Regions from separate parts of the Homo sapiens genome. Here region 1 is linked to region 2. Evidence: promoter capture Hi-C in 16 types of primary human blood cells and fetal thymus (Javierre and others, 2016). All regions are on one chromosome and are shown on one strand. Each heading gives the region's core, a stretch centred on a gene start or on the middle of the fragment in contact. The rest is flanking DNA. Distances are from core to core; before and after follow the strand shown.

Region 1 (2,926 bases), core at 414-2,913, 610 kb before region 2:
CCATACTAACAATTCACCTATTTAGCAATTTTACAGTTCATAAGATGTTAACACACTCTCTCTCCATACTTATATGGGTTTTGTCATTATTGTTTTTCAACTATTTGAAAGTTGCAGGCATAGTTCAGCCTTAAACACTTTATTGAACCTACATTTAAAAAAAATTTTTATTTTGAAATAACTGTGGACTTGCAGAAAAGCTGTAAAAATAGTACACAGTTCCTGTATAATGGTCACTCAGTTTCCTCTAATATTGAACCTACATTTTTTTTTTAATTTTTTATTTTTGAGACAGAGTCTCACTCTGTTGCCCAGGCTGGAGTGCAGTGGCACAATCTTGGCTCACTGCAAGCTCCTCCTCCTGGGTTCATGCCATTCTCCTGCCTAAGCCTCCCAAGTAGCTGGGACTACAGGTGCCCGCCACCACACCTGGCTAATTTTTTGTATTTTTAGTAGAGACAGAGTTTCACCGTGTTAGCCAGGATGGTCTCGAGCTCCTGACCTCGTGATCCGCCCGCCTCGGCCTCCTAAAGTGCTAGGATTACAGGCGTGAGCCACCACGCCTGGCTATTTTTTATTTTTATTTTTGAGATGGGGTCTCACTCTGTTACCCAGGCTGGAGTGCAGTGGCATGATCTCAGCTCACTGCAACCTCCACCTCCTGGGCTCAAGCGATCCTGAGTAGCTGGGATCACAAGTGCACGCCACCATGCCCAGCTATTTTTTTGTATTTTTTGTAGAGACAGGTTTTCGCCGTGTTGTCCAGGCTGGTCTTGAACTCCTGAGCTCAAGTGATCTGCCTGCCACGGCCTCCCAAATTGCTGGGATTATAGGCATGAGCAAAGGAAGAGCCCAGCCTGAACCTACATTTTTAAAGCACTATGCCTCTTCTTCAAAAGAAGCATTCATTAGCAAGATGAGGTCAACCATTTGGATATGCTCCCCAAAAATCTGCACTGGCTCCCTATCTCCTACCAAATATGGTCTAAAAACATTGGTATAAGCTTCTATGCATGAGCCTAAAACTGCCACTGTCTTGCTTCCTCCTATGCACTAGTGTTCCAATCACCAGTCCATGAAAATATCAAGCAGCCTTTGCCCTTGGGGCCTTTGCTCATTGCCCAACCTCAAATGACACCTTATATAAATCGGTCCCTTCCTAGATACAATATATAAAACAGAGGCCAGGCACAGTGGTTCATGTCTGTAATCCCAGCGCTTTGAGAGGCCAAGGCAGGAAGATCACTTTGAGGCCAGGAGTTCGAGACCAGCCTGGGTAACATAGCAAGATCTTGTCTCCACAAAAAAAAAAAAAAAAAAAAAAAAGTTAAACAAATATGCAAAATAGCAGGCCGGGTGCAGGGGCTCATGCCTGTAATCCTAGCACTTTGGGGGGCCAAGGCAGGTGGATCACCTGAGGCCAGGAGTTCGAGACCAGCCTGGCCAACATGGTGAAACCCCCTCTCTACTAAAAAATACAAAAAATTAGGCCAGGCGCGGTGGCTCACGCTTGTAATCCCAGTACTTTGGGAGGCGGAGGCAGGCGGATCACGAGGTCATGAAATTGAGACCATCCTGGCCAACATGGTGAAACCCCGTCTCTACTAAAAATAAAAAGATTAGCCGGACGTGGTGGCACATGCCTGTGGTCCCAGCTACTCAGGAGGCTGAGGCAGGAGAATCACCTGAACCTGGGAGGCAGAGGTTGCAGTGAGCCAAGATCACGCCACTGCACTCCGGCCTGGAGACAAAGTGAGACTCTGTCTCAAAAAAAGAAAAAAAAAAAAATTAGCCAGGCGTGGTGGCATGTGCCTGTAATCCCAGCTACTTGGGAGGCTGACAAAGGAGAATCACTTGAACCCAGGAGGCAGAGATTGCAGTGAGCCAAGATGGCGCCACCGCACTCCAGCCTGGGCAACAAGAGTGAAACTCCATCTCAAAAAATAAATAAATAAATAAATAAATAAATAAATAAATAAATATAGCACCACTGCCATTGCTGCCATTTCCATGTCTTCCTCCTGGGCCCAGCCCTGCCTTGCACTCCTATGCCCTTTATTTTTCTCCATAGCTCTTCTCACCATTCCATACCACACATTGTTAATTGTCTTTCACATGAGGGCACTGACTTGCTCTGTTTTGTTCAAAGCTGTATTCTCAGTGTCTTGAACATGTCTTGCACCTAATAAATGCTTAGCAAGTATCTGTTGAGTGAATTAGAATTTAACAGCTATATGATAAGGAAAAAGGAGTTACTTTCCCCATTCTCACTTAACTCTCCAACCCCACTCTTCCGCCCCCACATGCCAAAACCAAGCTTATGTCAAGAAATTAAGCTTGGCAAGCATCTGCCTGGGGGTTTACATTCACTAAAAGCGTGATTATCCTTCTGTCAATCATGGGGGAAAATAAAAAATAAAAGTGTGGGCAGGGCACAGTGGCTCATGCCTGTAATCCCAGCACTTTGGAAGGCCAAGGCAGGAGGATTGCTTGAGCTCAGGAGTTTGAAACCTGACTGGGCAACATGGTGAAACACCATCTCTACAAAAACTACAAAAACTAGCCAGGTATGGCAGCGTGCACCTGTGGTTCCAGCTACTCAGGAAGCTGAGGTGGAAGGTTTGCTTGAACCCACGAGGTCAATGCTGCAGTGAGCCTAGATCGCGCCCCTGCACTCCTAGCCCGGATGACAGAGTAAGACCTGGTCTCAAAAAAAAAAAAAGTCAAATCAGAAATTAAAAAAAAGTGATTTTTTTCCCTCAAAAATTACCCCTAGCCCAGAGTATGTTCACCTCTAGATCTTCCCCTAGGAGGCAGCACATTACAGTACAATAATTGTCAAATACAGAGAGCCGTTAGCTTCTTAGGACCATCCCTGCAAATCCAAGGATGAGATCCAGGACTCCACACGCTAGATGATGCTGAA
Region 2 (2,700 bases), core at 143-2,642:
CACCTTCTCCATGAGGGCTTCTCTGGCTACTCTAGCCTCAGGATTCTCTTTTCTTGGCAAGCACTAAACTCTCAGTCTCAAACTGGTTTCTGGCATGCTTCAGTCTTCTTAACCCTGTATGGCCTGGGCTGTGGTTCTGCTACACAAGAAGCTTTAGCACTGCACTGGACCCTGTAAGTTTGTGATGCTTCTATCAGATGTTCCAGGCACTCCTGCCAACTGGGGTGCATGGAGAGTGGCCTAGCGGAATAGAGTCTTTGTCCTCCCACCCCGAAGCCCAGGATCTCTGCCTGTGGGAATATCACGTGTGAGGGACTTGAAAATCTTCACGAGTCATGTAGTTAAAATGACAGTTGTTGAGGGAGGAAAAAAAAAAGCAACTGTAAACACATATGACACTCTAGTCAATGATATGCACGATGACGTATTTAGTGAGGTGTCCTGATGTCTGCAATTTATTTGGAGATGCATCAAAATGTAGGCTGGATTCGTGGATGTCTAGAACAGTGCGTGATAGTTATGTGACACAGCAAGTATAGCAGCAGTTAATGGCAGAATGTAGGTGGTGGGTATACAGATGACCACTATAAAATTCTTGCTGTACATCTGAACATTTTCAAAATAAAGTATTGGGGAAACCACACACACAATAAACAAAAAGACTGTTGTTAAAAGTTCCCCGTTCTGTCAGCAAATCTCCAGCGGACCTAGTGTTCTGTCTCTGCCAGGACTGTCTCCTATCGACCTGGGGGTGGTTTGGCTTAGATGTTACTTCCAGGAAGCCCTCCCAGGGCCGCAAAGACAGGGTGAAGCGCCCCTCCTCTGCATGCACCGTACTTCCTCAGCTCAGCACGGACTTCCCTGTACTGTGAGGGCTCTACCCCAGCAGGAACTACAGCACCACGTCTGCTACACAGAGAGCCCTCAACCAACCTCTGTGAATGCCATCGCCCAGCCTCTCTGTCCTCTGTCACCCGGGCGCCTAGCCAACAGCCAGGACCATGGCAGATGCTCAGCGACCCTGGACCTCCCGGTGAGATCCGCGGCCAGTCCTGCCCAGGCCTCTTTTCCGTCCTAGGTGGCCCTCTTCACATGCCATGCCCCGGCCCCATCAGGACCTTCCCTGCCGCGTCCCCTTCGGCGCCTCTCCTCCACCCAGCTCCTTTTCCGAGGACCCCTCCCTCACCCAGCCGCCCTCCTATACCCCACCTAGCTGAGAACTGAGAACCCTTTACCCGCCGGCCCTCCCCAGCTGGGAACCCCACCGCGTCCTTCCCGCACCGATTTTGCCCGGCGGGGCATCTCCGCCAGCAGCGGCGGCGGCGAGGAGCGCGGTCAACGCGGCGAGCAGCGGGGCTGCGCGGGCCATGGCGGGCGGCGAGCGGGCAGCACGCCGGATTCAGGCGCTAGCGGGTTGGCGCTCGGCTCTCCGCCCCGCCCCGGCGCCCCACTGGCAGTCCCGCCTTCCTGCCGCGCCAGACCCAGCTCCGCATTGGCCAAGCCGCCGTCCCTCTCCAGCACGAGGCCCTCATTAGCTCCATCTCTCTCGGGGTAGGCTCTCTCATTGGCAGCTTCCCCGTTCCGCCCCGCCCCCCGCATGCGGGCTCCTCATTGGCTGGGTTCATTCTTGCCCGGCGCAGGTGTGCCCGCTTCGGGTCCTCAGCATCAGGACCAGGGCCCAGCTGCGGCAGAGGGATGAAACAGACCAAAGTGAAGCTTTGAAGACCTCGGTTATGTCCAGCCTCTGCGTTATTAGCTCTGTATCTTCTCTGTGTCTGTTTCCTCTATTATAACACAGACGAAGAATCCTGCTCCACCTTTCTAGGTGGTTGTAACCATCTTATGAGATAAGGGAAGCCTTTTGCAGTGTCTGCAAGTGCTGGAAATTGCTGACCAAGCATGCGGCCAGGGTGGTAAGACGCTACCTCATTCATATGCTGACACAAGCCCTATGCTTTCTATACTGCTGTTATTTATGTGTTTGCAGTTTTTATATAGTTAATATCTCTGCTTTCTGCTTCCTAAAAACCAAAAGGCGGGGGAAGGTTTCATCTACTCTCTTTTCAGAAAGGAGAAAAGGAGGGATAAACTCCCATTTTCATCCTCTAAGAAGACAAGAGCAGCAGCTCAGACTTGCTAGTTTATCACGCTGTGAAAAACAGACTTCCTCTGGCAGAAAATAAAGTTAGGGATGAGTTTCAGAATAAAGAAAATCCGGAGGCTGGGGGTGGCTCAAGCCTGTAATCCCAGCATTTTGGAAGGTCAGGCGGGAGGATCGCTTAGGCCAGCAGTTTGAGACCAGCCTGGGCAACATAATGAGACTCTGAGACCCCGTCTCTTAAAAAAAAAAAATTCGCCAGGAGTGGTGGTGCACACCTGTAGTCCTAGCTATTCAGGAGGCAGAGGTGGGAGGCTTGAGACCGGTAGTTTGAGGTTACAGTGTTCTATGATTGTGCCACTGCACTCCAGCCTGAGTGACAAGAGTCCCTGTCTTTAAAAATAAATAAATATATAAAAATAAATGAAATCCATATTTACTCAGTGAGATTATGGCTAAAATAAGAAACTGGGCCGGGCACAGTGGCTCATGCCTGTAATCCCAGCAGTTTGGGAGGCCGAGGTGGGCAGATCACTTGAGGTCAGGAGTTCGAGACCAGCTCGGCCATCATGGTGAAACCTCATCTCTGCTAAAATGCAAAA

The links. Contacts are between HindIII fragments. The CHiCAGO score rates a contact against its expected background, and 5 or more counts as called.
Region 1: a fragment that was not itself captured here is called in contact with the fragment with the promoter of PCYOX1L in region 2 in 1 of 17 cell types (activated CD4 T cells); the score reaches 7.7 in activated CD4 T cells.

Annotation. Positions count from the first base shown.
Region 1 is chr5:149,962,139-149,965,064 of GRCh38, reverse strand. All of the region lies in intron 1 of SLC26A2 (solute carrier family 26 member 2), which reads right to left. Among named protein-coding and RNA genes, the nearest start is that of SLC26A2, 2.8 kb to the right of the region's middle. The HindIII fragment of the contact is 1,313 bases long and covers 1,007-2,319 here.
Region 2 is chr5:149,356,738-149,359,437 of GRCh38, reverse strand. It overlaps PCYOX1L (prenylcysteine oxidase 1 like), which reads right to left and starts at 1,392. Exons shown (of 6, transcript NM_024028.4): 1 at 1,282-1,392. The coding sequence starts at 1,369. It overlaps GRPEL2-AS1 (GRPEL2 antisense RNA 1), which reads left to right and starts at 1,796. Exons shown (of 2, transcript NR_132366.1): 1 at 1,796-1,913. RefSeq lists silencers at 1,153-1,362, 1,383-1,542, 1,563-1,612 and an enhancer at 1,338-1,632. The HindIII fragment of the contact is 1,565 bases long and covers 154-1,718 here.